Regions from separate parts of the Homo sapiens genome. Here all the other regions are linked to region 3. The links are contacts of gene promoters, found by promoter capture Hi-C in blood cells and fetal thymus (Javierre and others, 2016). All regions are on one chromosome and are shown on one strand. Each heading gives the region's core, a stretch centred on a gene start or on the middle of the fragment in contact. The rest is flanking DNA. Distances are from core to core; before and after follow the strand shown.

What was found. The method cuts DNA at HindIII sites, captures the fragments that hold promoters and counts their contacts. A CHiCAGO score of 5 or more calls a contact.
Region 1: the fragment with the promoter of SREK1 here is called in contact with the fragment with the promoter of KGD4 in region 3 in 1 of 17 cell types (activated CD4 T cells); the score reaches 5.6 in activated CD4 T cells.
Region 2: the fragment with the promoter of ERBIN here is called in contact with the fragment with the promoter of KGD4 in region 3 in 1 of 17 cell types (non-activated CD4 T cells); the score reaches 6.2 in non-activated CD4 T cells.
Region 4: the fragment with the promoter of SGTB here is called in contact with the fragment with the promoter of KGD4 in region 3 in 6 of 17 cell types (naive CD8 T cells, activated CD4 T cells, total CD4 T cells and 3 more); the score reaches 15.9 in naive CD8 T cells.

What each region holds. Positions count from the first base shown.
Region 1 is chr5:66,139,796-66,146,028 of GRCh38, forward strand. SREK1 (splicing regulatory glutamic acid and lysine rich protein 1) reads left to right here and starts at 4,505. Exons shown (of 12, transcript NM_001077199.3): 1 at 4,505-4,742. The coding sequence starts at 4,582. RefSeq lists a silencer at 4,286-4,355 and enhancers at 4,536-4,815, 5,076-5,135, 5,196-5,245. The HindIII fragment of the contact is 9,482 bases long and covers 1-5,372 here.
Region 2 is chr5:65,922,825-65,928,440 of GRCh38, forward strand. ERBIN (erbb2 interacting protein) reads left to right here and starts at 3,751. Exons shown (of 26, transcript NM_001253697.2): 1 at 3,751-3,982. RefSeq lists enhancers at 1,851-2,475, 1,975-2,194, 3,100-3,724, 3,685-3,904 and a silencer at 2,515-3,604. The HindIII fragment of the contact is 7,086 bases long and covers 1-5,616 here.
Region 3 is chr5:69,215,776-69,221,962 of GRCh38, forward strand. KGD4 (alpha-ketoglutarate dehydrogenase subunit 4) reads left to right here and starts at 1,985. Exons shown (of 4, transcript NM_033281.6): 1 at 1,985-2,096. The coding sequence starts at 2,055. RefSeq lists enhancers at 2,267-2,561, 4,210-4,834. The HindIII fragment of the contact is 5,941 bases long and covers 1,039-6,187 here.
Region 4 is chr5:65,718,710-65,724,165 of GRCh38, forward strand. It overlaps SGTB (small glutamine rich tetratricopeptide repeat co-chaperone beta), which reads right to left and starts at 3,400. Exons shown (of 11, transcript NM_019072.3): 1 at 3,208-3,400; 2 at 1,999-2,120. The coding sequence starts at 2,098. It overlaps NLN (neurolysin), which reads left to right and starts at 3,496. Exons shown (of 13, transcript NM_020726.5): 1 at 3,496-3,705. The coding sequence starts at 3,665. RefSeq lists silencers at 730-926, 2,971-3,020, 3,081-3,130, 3,201-3,810 and enhancers at 4,087-4,908, 4,681-4,760. The HindIII fragment of the contact is 2,154 bases long and covers 2,396-4,549 here.

The sequences.
Region 1 (6,233 bases), core at 3,255-5,754, 3.1 Mb before region 3:
CTACTGTCAAAATTTCCTTTCAGATTCCATAGAGTAGATTCATAGCAGATCCCACTCATTCAAAACCAAAACAAGAAGACTAACAGTCATCAAAGCCTCTTCTTGTAAGTACATCCCACACTTATCTTATATACTTTCCCAGCTCTAGCATTCTCTTCCTGTCCCTGTACACCCCAGAACTGCTCTCTCCAAAGTCACCTCCTGGTTCTCAGTCTAGTAAGTACCTAAAATCTATCATGTACATCTTTCTCTTGGTTTTTTCTGTTGCTGTATTTACTGGGGTTTACTTTTTTGAATTTTTGGTTTCTGGTTGGCTCTTATGGGCCTGAGCCTCCTTGTGAGGAGCTCTTTTTATTTTTTTCACTGAAACTTTGCCATCACTATTCCTATGATGTTGTATTTGAAGGTGTTGGGTTAGCATGCAGATGAAATCAAGAGGCCTGGAGATAAAGAAATAGCTGAAAATTGGAGCCGTGAGAATGATTACAGAGTTTGGAAGCAGAACATGGCATGGAGGTTGGAATTTTAAAATGTATCTCAGAAGTCCATGGTAGAACAGTCACATTGGCCAGAGTGGCAGGGCTGGAACAGGCCCAGGTTTGGTAAGTTTCCCTGAGAGATTTATAGAGGGATACTGTTACCTCTTCTCCACACGAAAGAGTTTGAAACCAGCCTGGGCAGCATAGTGAGACCTCATCTCTATAACAACAACAACAAAAACAACAATACCCCCTAGAGCCAAAACCTTTTTCTTCCTTTAAATTTTGTGACTATCCTCCCTCCCAGTTTTCCTTGGGGCTTGATTTTTTTTTTTTGGCTATTTGTTGTATTTGTCTGTTTAATGTTGTCCACAGCACTTTTCCTGCTACAAACATTCCTGGTGTATCTATATCTCCTCCCAATCTTAAGTCAAGTGCTATATCTTAGTTCTAGACATTTTTCCTAAATTTCATTTCAGAATGTTGTCCATAAGGGATCTCAATATTTTCTGCTCTTTCCTCCCAAAGCTGCTCTTCCTTCATATTTTTGGACCTAAATTATGACACTGTTTACTTAATTCTCCAAGACATAAATCTAAACTCCTCCTTCTGCTTTACTATTAAGAGTAGATTAAGTCCATTAAGAATACTGCTTTTACAACCTTCTAAACCAGTGGTTCTCAACATGGGGTTTGCAGACCACAAGAAGGAGCTCACCTGGGAACTTGTTAGAAATTAAAATTTCAGGCCCCACTCCAGACTTATTGAACTAGAAACTCTGGGGATGGGACCAGCAATTTGTTGTAACATGCCCACGGGCTGATTCTGATGCACACTAAAGTCTGAGAATTGTTCAAAACTAGTTGTTAATCCGAGAGATCTATGGTTGGACTTCAGGAGGACCAGAAAGCATCAGTAATTGTAGCTAAAAGTGAGTTTATGTCCATATATATTTTTCTGAGTGGACAGCTTTTATTCCTTTTATCTTCAAATGAGTTCAGTGATTCTCAAATTTGGGGCTGTTCCTTGCTTTCCATTACTACCACCTCTTACCTTTGTTCATGACCTCATTATAGCTTATTCAGATTATTGCAATAACCTACCCAGTTTCTTTGCCTCTAGTCTGAACCCTTTCCAATGTATCTCCAGGTTGCAGTGACAGTCATCACTTTCTTTCTTTCCTTCCTTCCTTCCTTTCTTTTTTGAGACAGGGTCTTACTCTGTCACTCAGGCTGGAGTGCAGTGGCACAATCACAACTCATTTTCACTGTAGCCTCGAACCCCCAGGCTCAAGCAGTCCTCCCGTCTCAGCCTCCCCAGTAGCTGGGACTACAAGCATGCACCACCATGCCTGGCTACTTTTTTGTTGTTATTGTTTGGTAGAAACGGGGTCTCTCCATGTTGCCCAGGCTGGTCTCAAACTTCTGGGCTCAAGCAATCCTCCTGCCCTAGTCTCCCCAAATCCTGGGATTACAGGCATATGCCACCGCACATAGCCAGTCATTTTAGAACATGAATCTGATCAGGGTCACTCTTCAGCTCCGAGGTCTTCAGTGGCTCCCAGCTTATGATAAAGTAATCTCTACCATGACAAATAATACCCTTCATAAAGGCTTATTCCTTTGCATGCATCTCTAGTCATTTTCAGCCCAGCAATAACAGACTTTGAATCTTCTGTACCTCACTCGAGCTCTCTTTTACCTTAACCCTGCCTTTGCATATTCTACATGCTCAGTCTGGAATGCCCTTCACTGCTCCTCCTTCCCTCCTTGCCTGGGTAATTCCTATTTGTTCAATATTCAGCTTAAGCAATATTTCTTCTGGGAAGTATTCCATTAGAACTAAGTTTAAGAGGCCCTCCTGTGTGCTCTGAATTCCTCCATGCTTATACCTATGGTAATAATAATTCTCAAACATTTTGGTCTTGAGTCCCTTTACATTCTTAAAGATTATTAAGGACTGTAAAATGCTTTTATTACTATCCACATTATAAATTAAACCTGAGAAATTTGGTATTTTGAGATTCATTTAAAAATAATTATAAGCCCATTATGTTAATAGAAATGACGCATTTTTTTCTTAGAAACCGAGATTGAAGGCAAAATGATGCATTTTTATGATAAAATATTTTTCCAAAAAATTGGTGAGAAGAGTGGCATTGTTTTACATTTTTCAAACCTTTTTAATGTCTGCTTTAATAGAAGACAGCTGAATTCTCCTATCTATGTATTCTTTATTTTTTTCCAACTTTTATTGTAGGTCCAGGGGTACATGTGAAGGTTTGTTACATAGATAAATTCATGTCATGGGGGTTTGTTGTACAGATTATTTCATCATCCAGGTATTAAGCCCAGTGCTCAATAATTTTTTCTGCTCCTCTCCCTCCTTCCACCCTCCACCCTCAAGTAGACCACAGTGACTGACGTTTCCTTCTTTGTGATCATGAGTTTTCTGTGTATTCGATCTGTTGTGATATGTTTTGGTTGAAATATATGAGGGAAATCTGATCTCATAAAGATAAGGTGTTGGAAAAGGGAAAACTACTTTATAGCCTTTCCAGATAGTTCTAGATATTATTCTTTGATACGGTACCAAACTTACATGTGGTAGTTTCTTAGCCTTCATTGCAGTGTGGACTGAATCTGAAACCACATCAATTAAGCACTGAAATCCATCAATCTATCTTGCACATACCAGAGGCTTTTTGCCTTTGTAATGGCACCCACTGGCCATTTGAAAAATAGGTGTCCACTAAGTTGTAAAGATCACAAAAATGTTGACATATTTCATTATATAGTCAAAAATAAATTGTTAATATAATGCTTCTTTTACTAGAAAAGTCTTTAAGTACTGGCAAGCTGTCAAGCTCAAGCTGGTGGATACAAGTGTAATAAAATTTGTATTTTTAGGTGAAAATTCAAAGAATTACACTAGTGCTTTTTCCGGAGACAACCATTTCACTTGGGCATGTAGCGGCAGTAGTTTCCATTTTTTCACACATATTCTTTAAAAGACGTGTAAGCAAGGATGGATTTGAAAAAAAAATACAATTTTTAGTTATTTGTGAAGGACATTTTTAAAGTGAAACTAGCATACTTTAAAACCTTAAATGTTGTATGATGTGAAGAATACAAAATGCAACTACCAGTACAAGACTGGCGCCACTGCCTTGATTGCTGCTAAGGTGTCAGCAGTTTAATCTTTTACGTTACCAGTGCAAATGGCAACAAAGTGAAAAAGGTCAAGAAACTCTTAATATTATTACGAAAATCGTTTTGACCTTGCCAACTTACTGAAAAGGTCTCGGTACCCTTAGGGATCTGCGGAGGGCATTTTGGGAGCAGCTGCCATGGACTCACTACTGTTGTCTCTCATTAGGTTGCAAGTTCTATGTGAACTGTCTTTAACTGTCTGTTACGTGCCCTTGCCTAATAGTGCCTGGGACATAGCACTCAATAAACATCAACACCTGTGGAACGAGGGAATTAAAAACAGGTTATAAACAACCCCTGCACAGCCTTCATCTTACTGCCTCTTTCCTTAATTCAACCTGAACCTACGCATTTTGTAAAATTTTGTTTTTTTCACAATTAGGACGCCTGCCAACTTTTAAAAATAGTTGGAGTTGGGGTGCTGCCTGTATGTGATAAGGCTGCCCTATAGTTTGGTCAAGTGTTCTTCCGTGTTGTCCAAGAGTCATTCCTTCTTTACAGTCCCGCACCAGTAGGCCAGGCCGCTTGGTTTCCCAATCCGAGACCGGAAGGAACCGGGTAGACATGAGCACAAGACTCTCATCGACTTTTGGGGAAAACAAAAACACCGATAAAAATCCAGGCGGTGAAACGAGCAGCAACAGCCCCAGGGACCCGGGAGCTGGAGGCCGCAGCCGCGCGAGAACCGCCGGGTTGCCGGGGCGACGCTTCCGGCTGGCGCGCGCAGCCCCGGGAGCAGGGGAGTTGTGAAATGGGCGGCTAGATCTGCCCGGCGCTGTGAATTCGCCAGCGGGAGCGCGCTCGCGGCCGCGCGTTCTCCGCTTTCCCGGCTCCGTCGCTGACGCGTCGTAGACGTTGGGGAGCGGGAAGGCAACGGCAGCGGGATCGGGATGAACAGCGGCGGCGGCTTCGGTTTGGGCTTAGGCTTCGGCCTCACCCCCACGTCGGTGATTCAGGTGACGAATCTGTCGTCGGCGGTGACCAGCGAGCAGATGCGGACGCTTTTTTCCTTCCTAGGAGAAATCGAGGAGCTGCGGCTCTACCCCCCGGAGTAAGTGCTGGAGCTCGGCTGGGGGAGGGGCGCGGGCGCCATAGAGACCTCGGGAGCCGAGGCGTGGAGGAGAGCGCGGACGCGGGCGCGCGGTGCATGTCACGTGATCGCGCCGGCTTACCTTGGTGCCCATATTTGATTAGGGCACCCGGGTTCCGCCGTCCTGCTCTCCTTAGTCGGATTTGGGGGGTTAACTACTGCACGGAGCCCTTACCAAGGATTTAGAATGGTTGCCCTTTCTGTGCCTCCGGGACTTGTGTTCGCTGCTGGGTCTTCGAATTCCGTGCCCCCACCCTCTTATTTCCCCCCGAACTTAAGATGGCCGCAGGTGGGCCCGGAACAGCCCTCATGGCAAACGTCTCAGAGCGTTTTTCCACTCTGAAAATCGCGGAGACCGCGCCTGAGCCACAGTCCAGTTTTTAAGGCCTTGGTGTCAGGCCGTTTTGCTGACGAGAAAGCCTGCTGCTGGTGACAAGATGGAACTGGGGCTGTGTTTGTTTCCCAGGACGGTCGCACAAACTTAGCATTTTGGTTTATCTAACCGAGCGCATCCATGTTCCCAAAGATCATGTCTGTTAGCCCTTTTGACAGCAGATTAAATTTTCCTCCTGAAAGGTCACACTGTCCCAAAGCTTTCAGAAAAAGTGTAAGTCGGTGCAGGGTTATCCCTCCCGTATACATTTAAAGTCCAGATCTTGGCTGGCATTCACAGCTCGCGGCCACTTCCCAGATAGTGTATTTTGGAATGGTAAAATTTCCCTCGTACGATATTATTTAGAAAACTCGCAAGGGGTTTGTAGGTTGTTCACATTCTTGCACACAAACTTTTTTTCTTTTTTAATGGTAGATCTTACAGTATTAAGATCCTCCGTTTTTTGTTCATTATATCAAAATCCTTTGAGGGAAGGGGTAATTGTTACCCAAGATTTATTTCTTTAAAAAAATTTTGATTTATTTCCTAGTGATGCATTTAGACCTATTTTTCTTTAGTTTTCTATCTCAGGTTATAACAGTGCTGTTGCATAACTATATAAAAGTTGTGTGGATATTTAAAATTTACTTTTTAAGTTTTTCTTCTCTGCTTTTTGTTTTGGAATATTTCATGCATACAGAAAAGTTGAAAGAGTAATACATTGAACATCCATGTTCCTTTTACGAGCATTTTGTCTGTTTTTGGCTACAGTTGATTATTAAAATTTCCCCAGTTATTTTAATAATGCTTTTTTGTCTGCTTTTGATCTAGTATGTAATTAGATAACACTGTCTCCCTTGAATATGCCAAGTAATCCATGTATTAATAGTTATCTCCTTTAATCTAGGACAGTCCCGTCCCCTTTTAAAGATTCTAAAGTCGTGACATTGATATTTTGTTTTGTAGTTCATTTTGTCTTGTAATATGACTCATAATCTGAGTTTATATAGATGAGATATATAGATGAGGTATATAGAGATATGTGTATATATATATCTTTATATTCGTGACGAGATTCA
Region 2 (5,616 bases), core at 2,501-5,000, 3.3 Mb before region 3:
GGTTCTCACGTATTTTCCATCATGTTTAGTGCAATACTGCAAAACTTTAATAACACTATGGCATCCATACGAAGCACCACTGGTGATGCTGGAAGTGTTCCCATGAAGCAAAGTCATGACATTACAAGAAAAAGTTGAACTGCTTGATATGTACCATAGACTGAGGCCTGCAGCTGAGGTTGCCTGGTATTTCAGACAGACAATTCATCTTGTAAACAGACAATGTAAACTTATGGTATGGACATAGTACATTACTGTGAATGTAGTTTCTCTTCCTTATGATTTTCTTAATAACATTTATTTCTCTACTTACTGTAGGAAGACAGTACATAATACATATAAGATACAAGCAATGTGTTAATCAACTGTTTTATGTTATCAGGCTTCTGGTCAGTAGTAGGCTTATTAGTAGTTGTTCAGTTTTGGGAGAGTCAAATGTTATATGCTCACATAGTTGGTTGGTGCCCCTAAATTCCATATTATTCAAGGGTCAACTGTATTGACAAGTGTATCCTGGATTCCATCCTCCTTTCTTGGTTTTGTAGAGACAAGGTCTCACCATGTTGTCCAGGCTGATCTTGAACCCCTAGGCTCAAGCAATCCTCCCGCCTCAGCCTCCAAAGTGCTGGGATTACAGGTGCGAGCCACTGCAACCGGCCAGATTCCATCCTCTTAAGGCCAGTGTATTAGGTGGCTCATTCTTACAGTATGAGTAAGCAGGACTTATTTAGCCATCAAAAGGGTCCTTTTATTGCCTGTAATCCTCTACTCTCTATATAACGCTCCAAGGAATGAGACTATATTTCCGTCTCCTATCAACTCAGCCTCAGCATATGTTATCTCTAGTTATCTCTATTTTTCCCTTCCAACAAAAGCTGCTTTGGGGAAACAATCTGATGAATTAGGTATAAATGACTAATAAGGATTAAAATATTACTTTTCCCAGGATTATGGTTTTGTGCTAGAGAAAAAAACTACTTAAAGGGATAAAACTCTAATGGCAGAATTTCAGGTGAGTTGGAGGGTTTTTGATTATAGGTACTTTTCTAGCCTAGATGGTAGTCTGTCAGATTGGTCCTGAGTGTGAGTATAAATTTTAAAAAGGCTAGGACCAGGGCAAGTCTTAGCCTAAAGCAGTGGCTTGATCAGTTAAGTTTAGAGAGGAGGGTTAGGTTTACTCGAATCTATGGCATCACATTTAAAGGGGTCTCGAATCAACCTGAGATTAGAAGCAACACTGGAATCCCAGAATCTAGCTGGTTTTCCACTAGTATGGGAGATATTCCATCCTGGGATGCTTTAGGAGAGTGACCCTTTCAGTTCAGAGCTATGCCACTGAGTTCTGATCAGGCGCAAAACGGTTTTTGAAAACGGAGCAAGAAATCTTCCCAGCGATGATTACAAATAGCTTGTACAATATGCTAACTTTAGCTTTTTATGCAATGGTTAAGATTCATTTTCACATAGATATCCAGCTTGGTAACACTGGCATAGCTGCTGCCATTTCCTAGCTTCCAGCGAATACTCTTACCTCTAATTCAGCACTGAATATATCTGAACACTTCAGTACTACCTGTAAATCTTCAACTTCTGCTGTATGCTAAATAACCTAACATCTGTATTAATTCCAGCAGTTCTTCAAGTAGTTAAAAATGCTCCCAACCTGAATAAAATGACTTGAATATCTTCGGCGTTATTTCAAGTGTTTGCAACTAATGTACAACTCATTTTGGTAAATGATTACTTGGTGGAATTTATGAACTCTTTCCATTGGCAAGCCAAAAAAAAAAAAAAAAAAAAGGTCTGTAGGGGATATAGCTCTTTATTCAAACTTGGTAATAAATAATTATCTCTAGAATACAGACGGAAGAACTGAACCAGGGACTTCAGGGACCCAGAGGCTAATTATCATCACTGTACACAGTTAAGTGCAGCAGAGAATGGGGGTGACGAATGGTTCGCTCCGCATTACGCTCCTTCTCTGGGTAAAACAAGGCCGTCTTTTCTGTGAACATATTTAAAGCAAGAACTGCAAAAACTGTGCAATGTTATGGTTGAGGCTTTCTATTTGCCATATGTGTTGACAGAATGCTTAAGAGTCTCTCTCCGCAATAAACGCGAACCCTGCCAGGCTGAATTATTAGGGCCAGCGCAATTCAACGACTGCACCACCACCGAACCGCTGGGGTTGGAAGCCTGCGTCGCATCGGAGCGTACCCATGTTTCTTCTAACAAAGGCACGATCTTGAGGCCATTTCGCGGGCCCTTTTCCCACTCCCAGCGCCAGCTTTGTCTCCCCGCCGGTATGAGGCTGAGACTTGGAGGAGGCTGAGCTGCGCCGCTGGGGAACAAGCTCGAAGGGCGGGCGTGGGAAGCTGCACCGCGCTGCCGCTGTGGTTTCCTGCGACCTGACCGTGCCATTAGAGGAAGTTGGAGTGCTGCAGCTGCAAGAGATACCTGCTGCCTTCAAATCAGGGCTGGACTCCAACAACCCCTGTGCACCGATTACTGTCGTACAAAGAAACTCCATCGGCCGGCGCGGCGGAGGCCTGTGGGCTCTCTATCTCTCTGGCTGGGCGCTGGGCCGCGAGCAGACAGCAGGGTCGGCGTTGCCAGCGTTCCCCACCCTGGGGGGCTCGGGAGTCCGGGAGTGCGGGGTCGGGGAGCGGGCAGGGAGCAGCGGGCAGGCCTCGAGGGGCCTGGGCCAGAGTGGGCCTCACGGCGCGCCTTGCACGCGAACCCACGGCCGCCGGCTGCCCCTCCCCCGGCCCCCGGCCCGCTGCCCCCAGCCGCCGACGTCGGCCCGCACCGCCCCCGCGCGCTGACTGGCCCGCGCAGGCCTCCTGCCCGGCTGTTGGCGGTTGGGGCGAAGCCGGCGGGAGGCCGCCCCGCCCCCGCCCCCGCCGCAGAGTCGCGGCGCGCAGCCTCTTCACCCGTCGCGGCCGGGGCGGTGGCGCTGTTGCCGCCGCGGCCTGTGAGGCAGTAACTCCCCTCCGCCCCTGCCCCATTCCTCCTCCTTTCTCTCCGCTCCCTCCGTCCTCCCTCCCCTCGCCGTCTCTCGCTCGAGTGAATGTGGCGCGGCGGCGCGGGACGCAGTCTCGGCCCCTGCCGCGGCCCCGCAAGCTCGTGAGGAGACGGAGCTGCCTCCTGCTCCCGCCCCCTGCGCGTCTCGGGGAGCCACCGCCGCTGGCGAAGGAGAACAAGCAGGGCAGCGGAGGGACGGTGGCGGGAAAACGGGAGAGGGAGGAGAAGAGGGTTCGAGGGCGAGTAGGGAAAGCGGGGAGGGACGGACGGAAGGACGGACGGCCCGACGGACGGCCCGGGGAGGGGGCCGCTATTGAGCCTGCCCGACTCCTCGGCTCCGGCTCCGGGTGGCGGCGGCAGCGGCGTCGCGGACGAAGGGCGCGGCAAGCGCTATCGAGACAATAACCCTGCCGCCCGGCTCTGGGGGCAACGGAGAGGAAGCGGTGGCGGCCTAGCGCGGCCGAGGCTCGCCGAGCGCCCGGGCAGCGTCCTCGCCCCCGCCGGCCGGGTGCTGCTGCCGTCCGGTGTGCCGGGCGCGCCGGTTGCCCGGAACCCGAGGCTCCCGGCGGCCGTCCCCTCCCCTCCCCCTCTCCGGTGCGCGCGGAGCTGGTTTTCCGGGTTCCCCTGGACGGAGCTGGATCCTGCTTCTCGCCAAGGCAGGAAGTGAGTTTCGCACTGCAATTCCGGGCGGTGTCACGAGTGAAAAGTTTTGTTTTTTTTTTTTTCGGCGGAGATCCTCGTTGGGGCTGGGAAACTCCTGCAAAACTCGAGACCAGGAAGCCAGCCCGCACCCCAACCCCCACCAAAGCCACCTACTCTTCTTCTGTGGGAGGCCAGTCCACATCCGCTCTCACCCGAGAGAGATATTCAGCTGGATCCAAAGTGACTGATGAAGGGAAGGAAATCATGTCAAGCGAAGCCTTGAAAAAGCTGCCCTGAGACGGTGTCCCGCCGAAAGGTAATTTTCACGAAAAGTGTCTCTGAGTCACAAAGTTCATGGGACTTTGTGACTCGGAAAAGAGATGATTCTTTAGTGTTTTTCACTCTTCTCCAAGTTGCCCTAAACCCTCCTTTTCTCATATCGAAGCGGTTAATAATTGAGGGGCTAAATAATCGAACTGCACCCCACCGCGTCCCTTCTCCCCCCTGCCCCCCCCACCATCTGGACTTTGAATTTTTTGGAAGAGGTTGTAAGAATGCGGTGGGACGAAAAGTTTTTAGTAATCCGAAGAACGATTGCCTTTGTTCAGCACAGGGGCCAGAAGTTTTGGCTTTCTGGAACGTATAGAGTGTATATTAAGTTGCTCAGCCAGGCACCTTCTGTTTGGGAAGAAAGTTTGGTCGCTGCAGTGAGTGATTTGCTGTTATTGAGATGGCTGCCGCGTTTGTTTATACTCATACCGATTATATTGGCGCTTGCGTTAATTGTATATAGAGGTATTTATTTTTATTTTTTTATTTCCAACCCTGATCAGTATATTTAGTTAGATTTTAGAAACCAAAAAATCTTGCCATTCTTAGTTGTTTTTCAGGGTGAGTAATATATTTCTTTAGTTGTGTGTAGTGTGTGTTTTTCAGACGTTTAGCGCCGTATAACTTGTTTAATTAATTGAAAGCAAGGATCGACTAGGCTTTTCTTGTAACTGATCCATTACGAAGAAAAAAGGAGTAAGGACTAAGAATAGGGAGAGATAATTAAACAACATTAACAACCTGTAAGACGTTTAATAGGACTTCTGTACAGTTCAGAACAGACGATGGGAGGGGAAGTAAAACGCTTAAAACGATTTTCAAGGGAATCACAGTGATTGTGATAAAAAGCTGTGCTTTTCGAGTAGTATGGTCTTTACATTTTTGTGTTGTCCCAAATGTTTTTGGTCGGTTCTGCATAAATAGTGATAGGTTCTGCCTACATCTGTGGGGGCAGGATTCATGAAGCATGGCAGACATTCCACCAGTCAGAGCTATGAACACTTCTGAACCAATGGGGACTAGTTTTGATAGCAGTAAACCCAAAGTTTTTTTCAGTGGTGTTTTAGTCTTTTTCTGTTTACTTTTTTTCCCGGTATTTTTGCGGTACAGGGAGGTGAAATACAATACTGTACTTTTGAATATATATTGAATAAATTTGGTAATCCTGTTGGTAGGTATATCCTAAATATATATTGATGTTTAGATTGCCTATGCTGTCTCACGTAATGACCGGAAACCCGAGGAGAGAGTTGATTTTCTTTAGTTCAAAGAGAAAAAATAAGTTTTAAAGATCAGGATCAAATTATTTCACAATTTGTTCTTTGCTACTTCAGCTTCATTAAGTACATCTCCAAAGGCAGTCCTTTATTTATTACTGTAGTTTTGATTTTTTTTTTCCTCCCCGGGGCATGGTCTCAGGAGATTCTTTTTTTTTTTCATTGTTGGTAAGATTTGTGAACCATGGAATAATTCTTGTTAAGTCAAACTAGCTTTATCAAAGAATTTAAAGTGCATAACTCATCTACTTTATGATTTTGGAACGTATCATTAGGCTGCAAAAGAGGTTATTCTTGGGCATCTGAAAGAGGTGAACAAAATAAATGGCATTGAACTTCAGTT
Region 3 (6,187 bases), core at 735-3,234:
CAGATCACGAGGTCAGGAGATGGAGACTATCCTGGCTAACACAGTGAAACCCTGTCTCTACTAAAAATACAAAAAAAATTAGCCTGGTGTGGTGGCGGGTGCCTGTAGTCCCAGCTACCTGGGAGGCTGAGGTGGGAGAATGGTGTGAACCAGGGAGGCGGAGCTTGCAGTGAGCCGAGTTGGCACCACTGCACTCCAGCCTGGGTGACAGAGCAAGACTCTGTCTCAAAAAAAAAAAGAATTACCACAGATGAATGGATAAGCAAAATGTGGTATACACATATAATGGGATTTTTTCAGCCTTAAAAAAGAAATTCTGACACATTCTACAACATGAATGAACTCTGAAGACATGCTAAGTGAAACAAGCTAATTACAAAAGGACAAATACTGTTATGGCTCCACGTACATTAAGTACCCACAGTAGTCAAATTCATAGACAGAAAGTAAAATGATAGTTGTCAGAGGCTGAGGGAAGGAGGAATAAGTTTTTGTTTAATGGGTACAGTTTCTGAAGATGGTAACAATTGCCCAACAATGTGAATGTACTTAATGTGACTGAACTGCACATTTGAAAATAATTAAAATGGGGCCAGGCGCAGTGGCTCACGCCTGTAATACCAGCACTTAGGGAGGCTGAGGTGGGTGGATCACTTGAGGCCAGGAGTTGGAGATTAGTCTGGCCAATATGGTGAAACTCTGTCTCTACCAAAAATACAAAAATTAGCCAGGCGTGGTGGCGGGCGTCTGTAATCCCAGCTACTGGGGAGGCTGAGGCTGGAGAATTGCTTGAATCCAGGAGGCAAAGGTTGCAGTGACCTGAGATCACGCCACAGCACTCCAGGCTGGGCAACAGAGCGAGACTCCGTCTCAAAAAAAAAAAAAAAAACCACAAAAACAAAACAAAACAAAACGGGTTAATGGCCTCTCTGTAGTCACTGAATCCCAATAGACCATACCTGGGTTCAGTAATTTATATTTCTAAAAAGATCCCAAGACTTAGAAATCACTGATGTATATCATCAAACACATTGGTCAAGCTTACAATACTATATATAACCTAAGCATTATCACAGAACGTAATGTAACTTTTTTTTTTTTTGAGACGGAGTCTCCCTCTGTCGCTCAGGCCGGAGTGCAGTGGCACACTCTCGGCTTACTGCAACCTCTGCCTTCTGGGTTCAAGCAATTCTCCTGCCTCACCTCCTGAGTAGCTGGGACTACAGGCGCCCGCCACCACGCCCGGCTAATTTTTGTATTTTTAGTAGAGACAGGGTTTTACAATGTTGGCCAGTCTGGTGTCGAACTCCTGACCTCAAGTGATCCGCCCGCCTCAGCCTCCCAAAGTGCTGGCATTACAGGCGTGAGCCATAGCGCCCCGCCCGTAATGTAATTTTGGGGGAAAGATATGAGTGGCTTACATTTCAAATATTTCTGAATTTTTGAGTTATCTCAACTTGAAGCAAAGGCCCAGCAGTTCGATATCAGGAGTAATAAACGGTAAAGAAAACAGAAACAAATTACAATCAAGCAATGCCAATCAGCAAGAGAGTGTGACATGGCCCTTTTTAAGCCAGAGTAAACTCTTGTGAGCTTGCCACTAACTCCCATTTTAACGAAATTATTCATTTTAGGAAACCGCAAGGTTTTTTTTTTGTTTTTCTTTAATTTTTTTAATCTTTGCAAGAGCTGTCAGATAAGAAGGTTGTATTATTTATTTGGTTCCAGATAAAATTTTGAACTATATCGAAATTATAGACTGGCTTTCTGGAAAGGAAATGGTCCTAGACAATTTATAGGCTAATGAGCAGAGACCCACCTTAACAAAATTTTGTCCCCAAAACGAAACAATAGAACACACGTGGGTGGATCCTAGTAGGGAGAAGGGGTGGGCGGGGTCAGGCACAGGGGGCGGAGCCAGCCCCACGGCGGAGGAGAGCCCAGTCCGGTCTCCGCCTCCGTGACGTCCCGGGAAGCACCGCCCACAGCTGCCCGGGACTCCAGTGATCGCCGCGGCTCGCTCGCGCCCCGGAAACTGCCCCTTCTCGGGGGTCATGATGGGCAGCAAGATGGCGTCTGCTAGTAGGGTCGTTCAGGTAAAGCAATTTGTCGCGTTTCCGCATCTTGGGCGGTAGGGACGGTGCTGACTATGGCGACGGCGTCGGGGAGTAAAGGCGGTGGCAGAGGCAGAGCGGTGACCGCGCCTCTGCGGAGGGCCAGTGACGGCGCCCGCGGGTGTGTGTGAGGATGGGACTTTGAGCCTGTTGGACCGGGCAGTGAGGTGGGTCCGGCGCCGAGGGTTCGAGCCTTGCGGCAACCGTGCAGCATCTTGGCAGGTAGGTCCTGTACCTACTGCCGGGATCCCCCGCTCCTCCGCCAGGACCTTGTTAGTCTTAGGCGTGTGCGGGTGAGGCGACCCTGGCGGTAGCCTGGCCAATCGCCGTCTAGGATTGGCTGTGGTGCCCCCGATCAGCCAATCGGAAGGAAGGCGGTAGCGGGGCGTGGAAGGAAGCGAACCCTGGATCTGACCCACTGTCCCTTCAAGGTCTCGGGAATGGTCGGGCAACTGGCCCCGCGTACTGCGTCCTCGCCGGAGCGGGTTCTCCCCAACCTCTCCAAGCGTCTGGCTACAGGCCAGATGAGGGAAATAGAAAAGTAAACTTAAGTTTAATTAGTATGTGTGTGTGTATATTAATGTGTGTGTGTGTGTGTGTGTGTGTGTGTATAAGCGTTGGTTTCACAAGCCTATTTTCCCCTGGTTTAGATAGACAGCTAAAGTAACTTTGTTAATCCACCTATCAGCTACTAACTCCTGATAGCCTTTTTATTTGTTTCTTCAGCTGTGGTTCTAACTTAGGTAAAATTATTATATAAGTGGAACACAACCTCCACTTTTGTGGTTGGTTTACATAGTCTTTGAACCCTGAAACTATATTATTTTATAATTGACTTTTATCTTTGATATGAGAAGTACATTCCGCTTTATATAAGTACATCTCTTAAAAGACCTTTTTCTAAATTCCTGAAATTGTTGTCTGAATGATAATCCTAGATCCCAGTCTTTGGTCCCATTGCAATGAATGATCCTTACTTATTCAGTAGGTAGTTACTGAGCATCAACTAGTTAAAGATTCTGTAAGGACTGAGAGACTGACAAAGGTCTGTTATCCATAATATATAACCATATGTATCAATAATATATAACAATTTAAAAATGGGTAAAAGACTTGGCGTGTTGCACAAAAGATACCCAAATGAGCAATGAACATTTTAAAAGGTGCTCAATATCATTACTTGCCAGGAAAATAAAAATTAAAACCATGAGGTCCTACACATCCACCAAAATGACTAAAATTTAGACGTCAGTGGTGATGAGAATGTGAAGCGTCTGAAACCCTCAATATTGCTGGTGGGAATATAAAATGTTATAGCCACTTTGGAAAGCTGTCAGTCTCTAATAGTTAAGCATGTATCTACCGTATGACCCAGCAATTCTACTCATAGGTTTATTGCCCAAGAGAAGTGAATGCACATACTGTCTCTGTACGTAAATGTTCACAGAAAAAAAAGAGTTACTAGCAAAGAACTGGGGTCCAGAGCTGAGGGGTTCCAGCCTGGCAGCAGGAGTGTGGCATCTCAGCAGGCAGGTACTATATATACTGCCATGGGGTCCCTGGCTCTATTTCTGATAGCCCCCAAACCACAAACAATCTCTATGTCTGTCTTTTGCATAAACAAATTGTGGTAGTTTGTTAAAATAGTACAGTCCAAAGCAATACTAACAGCTGATGTGTGCAAACAAATGAAGAAACTGTGAGATATACAGTAAGGAATGGTCTGTGCCCTTCTAACATAGGAACAAAGACCTGTACTCACCTATTTAGAATTCAAATCAGGTTCGTGATTGCGCTCTTAAAAAAAAAGAAAAAAAGAGAGAATACAACCAATATGCTAATATAATATCACTTGAGCCTAGGAGTTTGACGCTGCAGTGAACCACAATCACCCCACTGCACCCCAGCCTGTGTAACAGAGCAAGACCTGGTCTCGAAAAATAAATAATAAAGTATGTGCTAATATTATGTAATAATTACATATAACATTAGCAAAATTTGTTGAGTATCTCTGTGACAGGCCTATAAAGCTAGGACTACAGTGCCAGTTAGAGTTTAGGCCAGGCTCACTGATGTATGCCTGTAATCCCAACACTTTGGTAGTTTGAGGCAGGAGGATGGCTTGAGCCCAGGAGTTCAAGACCAGCCTGGGCAAAATAGCAAGACCCCATCTCTATAAAAATTTTAAAAAATTAGCTGAGCATGGTGATGTGCACCTGTGGTCCCAGCTACTCAGGAGGCTGAGGTGGGAAGATTGAGCCTGGGTGATCAAGGCTACAGTGAGCCATAATCATGCCACTGCATTCCAGCCTGGACAGTAGAGCTAGACCCTGACTCAAAAAAAAAAAACAAAAAAACATAGAGCTTAGAATTTGGTTGTTGATCCATATCTTGAAGGAAGAGAAGAGTGCCAAAAGACTGATTGGTACAAACTGATAGGAAGTCACAAAGCGTGGTCTCAGAACATTAAGTAAAGACAAAGCCAGCTGGGCACGGTGGCTCACACCTGTACTCCCAACACTTTGGAAAGCCAAGGTGGGAAGATTGCTTGAGCCAGGAGTTCAAGATTAGCCTAGGCAACATAGCAAGACCCCATCTCTATAAAAATTAGCCAGGCAGCCGCCCCGTCTGGGAAGTGAGGAGCGCCTCTGCCCGGCCGCCCCGTCTGGGATGTGAGGAGCGCCTCTGCCCGGCCGCCACCCCGTCTGGGAAGTGAGGAGCGCCTCTGCCTGGCCGCAGTGCAATCTTCCAAGTGTGAAGTGACAGCCTTTCTGCAGGTGTACCCAACAGCTCTGAAGAGACAGCAACCATCGAGAACGGGCCATGATGACGATGGCGGTTTTGTCGAAAAGAAAAGGGGGAAATGTGGGGAAAAGAAAGAGAGATCAGATTGTTACTGTGTCTGTGTAGAAAGAAGTAGACACAGGAGACTCCATTTTGTTCTGTACTAAGAAAAATTCTTCTGCCTTGGGATGCTGTTAATCTATAACCTTACCCCCAACCCCGTGCTCTCTGAAACGTGCTGTGTCCACTCAGGGTTAAATGGATTAAGGGCGGTGCAAGATGTGCTTTGTTAAACAGATGCTTGAAGGCAGCATGCTCGTTAAGAGTCATCACCACTCCCTAATCTCAAGTACCCAGGGACGTAAACACTGCGGAAGGCCGCAGGGACCTCTGCCTAGGAAAACCAGAGACCTTTTTGTTCACGTGTTTATCTGCTGACCTTCTCTCCACTATTATCCTATGACCCTGCCACATCCCCCTCTCCGAGAAACACCCAAGAATGATCAATAAATACTAAAAAAAAAAAAAAAAATTAGCCAGGCAGGAGGGGTAGTGTGTGGGTGTGTACCTGTAGTCCTAGCTACTTAGGAGGCTGAGGTGGAAAGATCACTTGAGCCCAGGAGTTTGACGCTGCAGTGAACCACGATCACTCCACTGCACCCCAGCCTGTGTAACAGAGCAAGACCTGGTCTCAAAAAATAAATAATAAAGTAAAACATTTTCAGACTGGCTAACAAATGAAAATCCAGTGCTATGCTATTTATAAGAGGCATAGCTAAAACTAAGATTTGGAAAGGTAAAAATAAAGAGATAGTCAACTGATCTTTGACAAAACGAGCAAAGGGAATACAATGGAGAAAAGATAGTCTTTTCAACATGGTGCTGAAAAAATTGGATATCCATCTAGACACAGACCTCACGTTCTTCACAAACATTAACTCAAAATGGATCCTAGACCTAAATGCAAAATGCAAAACTATAAAACCCTTAGAATATAACATAGGAGAAAATAAAAATAACCTTAGGTTTAGGAATGACTTTTTAGATATAACACCAAAGGCATGATCCATGAAAAATTAATTGATAAGCTGGACTTCATTAAAATAAAAAATTCTGCTCTGTGAGACACTGTCAAAAAAAGGCAAGCCACATATTGGGAGAAAATACTTTCAAAAGACATATCTGATAAAAGACTATTATAGAAAACATAAGGCTGGGCACGGTGACTCATGCCTGTAATCCCAGCACTTTGGGAGACCAAGGCGGGCAGATCACCTGAGGTCAGGAGT
Region 4 (5,456 bases), core at 2,150-4,649, 3.5 Mb before region 3:
CAATTAAATTAGACTCACAGAGTCAAAAATAGGGGTCAGTCAAAAACAATTGGCACCCTTTCTGACTGCCATATATAACAAACAGCTGAAGGCACATATTTTTGGCTGAATACCATCCTAAAAATAGGACATAACATCTTGGTTTGAAAAAAAAACCCTCAATTTTCTTTCTGGCCCTTAAAACTTTTATGCTGCTTTTGATTAGAAAAGAAACATCTTTTCTTAAATGACTGCATTTATCTGTTTGCTACAGAGCAATCATAACTAACATTCTCCTTAGATAACCAATCAACTTTATTTTCACATAGTCTAATCATCAAGGAGAACAAAAAGACCTTAATATTAAATGGACTGATTGCAATGTTCTCCAACTGTGCATCACCTGCTCCTCTCACTGCCACCTGGAAAGACATCAACTAACCAGACTGCAAGGAGGTTTAGAGCAAATGCCCAATTTTCATCTCCACCTCCTAAAAGCATATTCACAGGGAAATGCTTGTTGAAATTATAGAAGCAGTTTCAAGATGGGATTTATAACTATACTGTCATTTATTAAGTTCTTCCAAATGCACTCTCACTGCAATAATTAAGACTTTGGGGCTGGGAGGGGTGGCTCATGCCTGTAATCTCAGTACTTTGGGAGGCCAAGGCGAGTGGATCACTTGAGCCCAGGAGTTTGAGAACAGCCTGGGCAACATGGCGAAACTCTGTCTCTACAAAAAAAAATACAAAACTTAGCCGGGTGTGGTAGTGTACTCCTGTAGTCCCAGCTACTCAGGAGGCCGAGGTGGGAGGATCAATTGAGCCCAGGAGGTGGAGGTTGCAGTGAGCCGAGATTGTGCCACTACACTCCAGCCTGGGTGACAGAGCCAGACAGACCCTGTCTCAAAAAATAAATAAATAAATAAAAGACTTTAGGCCACAGGGACACCAGATTCACTGAACCTCCACAAGCCCATCTGCAGAATTCTACCTTGTTATGGTTGTACTGAATTTAAATTTTATAACACATAAACATGAAGAACAAAGACGGTGTCGAGGAAACACATGATGCTATCACCCACATCCTGTTCAACTTTACAGATTACCGAATCCAATATTAAAGTTAACGTAAAACACAGGTGAAATGCTCCCATTTCAAGTTCCAAATTAGGCACTGGTCAGATCTCACTAGTGGTATAATTATTAGACTTTTACATAGTGCTATTAAAATGACTCAGGTATTTTTATATATTATTTCTAAACTGGATGCTTTCCTATTAGGAAATGGAGACAACAAGATCTTCAGAGTATTAACCAGGATTTAAATCTCAGCTTTATCACATATCAGCTGTGTTATCTGCTTACGCTATTTGGTTTCATTTTCTTTTTCTTTTTTTTTTTTTTTTTTTGAGATAGGGTCTCGCTCATGGCCCAGGCTGGAGTGCAGTGGTGTGATCTCAGCTCACTGCAACCTCCACCTCCTGGGTTTAAGCCACCCTCCTATCTCAGCCTCCTGAGTAGCTGGGACTACAGGCAAGTGCCACCACACCTGGCTACTTTTTGTATTTTTAGTAGAGACAGGGTTTTGCCATGTTGCCCAGCCTGGTCTTGAACTCCTGACCTCAAATGACCTACCTGCCTCGGCCTCCCAAAGTGCTGGGATTACAGGCATGAGCCACCAAGCCTGGCCCTGGTTTTATTTTCTCACTTGTTAAATGGGGATAATACTAACATAACAGTTGCTGTGAAGAAAAAATTGCCTATAATATGAACAGCATACTTCTGACATATAGTATTTGTTCAATAAATGAACAATAGTCCTCTTAATTTGTTGTTAAAACAAACAAAACAAGCTTCAGAAAATGGAAATACGATAACCTTATAGTCAGGCCTCTCCTCTTGAAAGATCAAAAAAAATTCTGATTATGTTACAATAGATCATCAAGTTGGGCTTACAGCTATTTTAGTCTTCGTTTATAATTATAATATAAATGAACACAAAGAGCAGATGCATACCTTCCAAACTTTCTTGTTCATCCGAGGTGTAAGTGTCCATCTGACTTTGTTCCCGTAAGAAACGAATAACTGCATAAACCAGGTGCTTGATAGATGACATTTTAGAAGCTTAAACACTTTTCCTTGATAAGAAAAATGAAAACACTGAACTAAGTTATTTTAAAGAATCAGTCAGGAAAGTCATAAATTACAAAGATGATATGGGTTATAAAGTGTATTAAAGGTAAAAACAAAACACAAAACTGTATGACCTTTCATCTTTTCTCTTTGTAAAGAGTCAGGAGAGCACAAAGTATTGTGAAGGTAATTTATTACATATTTTCATTAATACCCAGTGGTATACGAGTATGTTAAATCTTGGAATAAGTAAAAATGTCTTCAAAACATGTACAGCATAAGCTTAGACTGTCACTGCATATCTCACCATACAGAAATCCCCTAAAGGCCTCAGTACTAAGTTAAGAGGCATTTCATACTGCTGACTAAAAGCTGATGTATACCAAGCATCTTCCTCTTTTTCATGGGATCTAAAAAAAGTATTAATAATGTACACTCTACCCACTTTTGTAGGTTGAGAGTTATTTGATGAGGAAACACATTCGCGAAAGGTTATTCAAGTGGTGAGTGTCGTTCTTAATAAAAATGGCATTTCTATTTAATCAGCAGACATGTCAGGAAATCGCTGCCCAAGTCGATGGATACTACAAGCCGACCGGCGCTCCCTGCAGAGGCTGTGCTCTCGTGGACAAGCTGGAAGCTCCCGGTCATGTTCATTCACATGGAATACTATCGCATCCAAACAGTGGCGCAGGGCCAGGCGGCATTCATGGCTGATTTCCACCAAATCGCATCATCCATCTGCTCCCCAGGTTCCCTAATTCAAAGCCAGGGTGTGGTACCCGCCGCTATAATGTTTATTATTTGTGTAGTTATTTTAAAGGCGATGTCAGCCTCTAGGCCACGGGGTCATAAGCACTAAATAAGGCCCCAGGGCAGAAGGTAAAAACAGAATGGGGGGAAAAGGGGTGAGAAGAGGGAAATAGGCTTCTCCCCCTTCCTCTCCCCAGAGCGCATCGAGCTCCCCCTCCCTTCCGTCCTCCCTCAGGTACCCGGCCTCGCCTCGGCCCTGCCCGGTGTGCAGCGGGTGCCGGTGCGGGCCCCGGTCCGGAGCGGCGGGAGGCGCACCCTTGCCAGACAGAAGCCCCTTACCAAGCAGGAGGACGCGAGACGACTGCTGCTGGCCCGCGGGGTTCCGTAGGCAGGCCCGCCCGACCCCTGGTCCTCGGGGCTGGAGCCCGGCTCGGGATCGCAGCACTGGTCGCGGCGGCGCAAACTTCCCCGGCCCCTAGGCCGTAGACCCCAGAACCCACCAGGCTGTGCTCTCTCTCAGGCGGCAGGGTCTGGCCAGCACCGCCCCTGGGGCGGGGCCGGACGCGAGGGCTGGGGCGGGGCCAGACACGCGAGCTGGGGCGGGGCACGGCGCGGGGCGGGGCTGGTAGGCGCCGGCGTGGAGCTGCCGCACGTGGGAGGGCGCTGGCCAGGCAGCCACTGTGGCCTCTGCGGCTAGGCCGGCTCGAGACTCCCGGGCGCCCAGGCGCTGCCGCCCGCCTCGCCGCCCCACGCCGAAGGACCACGCGCCCGCCGCCGCCAGCCTCTCAGCGCTCCCATGATCGCCCGGTGCCTTTTGGCTGTGCGAAGCCTCCGCAGGTACCTCCAGCGCGCGGGTTAACCTTGGCCGTGGGCAGGGCGGGGTCTTTCGCCGTGTGGTGCCTGGAGCCCGGACCCACCCCTTCCCGACCGCGCCTCTCCGACGCTCCCGGGACGCACCCTCCCCGCGGCTTGCAAGGTGGACCCCTGGGGGACACCTGGCGCGGCCACCTGGGGCCACCTTTCCCGCCTCCGCTCCCTCGGGAGGACGTCCATTCCTCTTTGTTTGGGACTGCCTCAGCCGCAGTCAGCGAGGCTGGTCACAGACGCGGCCCAAAATGAATGCAAATAGTTTGGATAAGAAAATCATTTCACGTTCAATCCCAATGCAGAACTACAGACCTGTCATTAAAAGTGCCGCAGCTGTGGACTCAGAACAATTGTGTTTGCTCCTCGCGCCCATTATTAGCATTCCAATCGTTTAACATCCACCCGAGATGAAACCTCTTTGGTGGTGTTGCTTGTTTCCGTCCATGCTCTCTGACTTCCTTTTTTATTTTCCTCCTCCCCATAAAACAAACATTCTGCCTCTTGCCGGTGCAAATTGACTTGGCCCAAAATGGAGAAAATGATCGCTTGGACACGGCTTTGGGCAGCCTGAGCTGCTGTTTTGGATTGCTTCCTAGCCCTCTAACCACACCCCACTGCAACAGACCAGTAGCAAGATGGTGAGGGAATTAAATTCTTTGCACGGATGCGCTGGTTTTCGGAAACAATGCCGCCACCATCCCCGTTTCCAAATCTGCCCAGAACTGTAAATCCAAATGAAGATTCAACAGAATAAAGAAAATGTGTGCTTCTTGCTAGCTATCAACAAAACTACTTTGTAACATGTCAGCATTTAAGCTTTCTACAGTTCCCTTTTGCACATTGCCACTCGTCTGTGTGGATGGAGCTTTGTGTTGCTCAGTCCGTAGAGTTAGGGAGCAGGCAGGCGACAGTGGTTAATTACAAAGAGTTAATGTGGTGATTGGTGACCATATTTCAGCCTGTCGTTTTTTGCTAGTCTCCAGGCTGCAATCGATATAGCTGTCAAATGAAGTTATACCAAGAAATGAAGACTTCACATAATGCAGGGGTGAGAGGAGGGAATAAATCTTCATATAAGAGCAATTCTCGGCCGGGCGCTGTGGCTCATGCCTGTAATCCCAGCACTTTGGGAGGCCGAGGCGGGTGGATCACGAGGTCAGGAGATCGAGACCATCCTGGCTAACACGGTGAAACCCCGTCTCTACTAAAAAATACAAAAAATTAGCCGGGCGTGGTGGCGGGCGCCTGTAGTCCCAGCTACTCGGGAGGCTGAGGCAGGAGAATGGCATGAACCCGGGAGGCGAAGCTTGCAGTGAGCCGAGATCGCACCACTGTACTCTAGCCTGGGCGACAGAGCAAGACTCCGTCTCAAAAAAAAAAAAAAAAAAAAAAGAACAATTCTCAAACTTTTTATTCTCAGGACCCCTTTACCTTTCAAAAATTACCGTGGACCTAAGAGCTTCTGTTTGTGTGGTATATCTGTCTATATTTACCATATTAGACATTAAAGCTGGAAAAAAATTAAAGTAGTTGTTAATTTACAAAACTAATAAATAGGCTAGGTGCATAAATAGTGATTTTAATGAAAAATAACTATTTTCCAAACCAACCCCCCCGCCCCCCAATCAGTGAGAAGATTAACATTGTGGGGTTTTTTCCCTTTTTTTTAAAATTGTGGTAAGATATAACAAAATTTACCATTTTGATAATTTTTAAGTGTA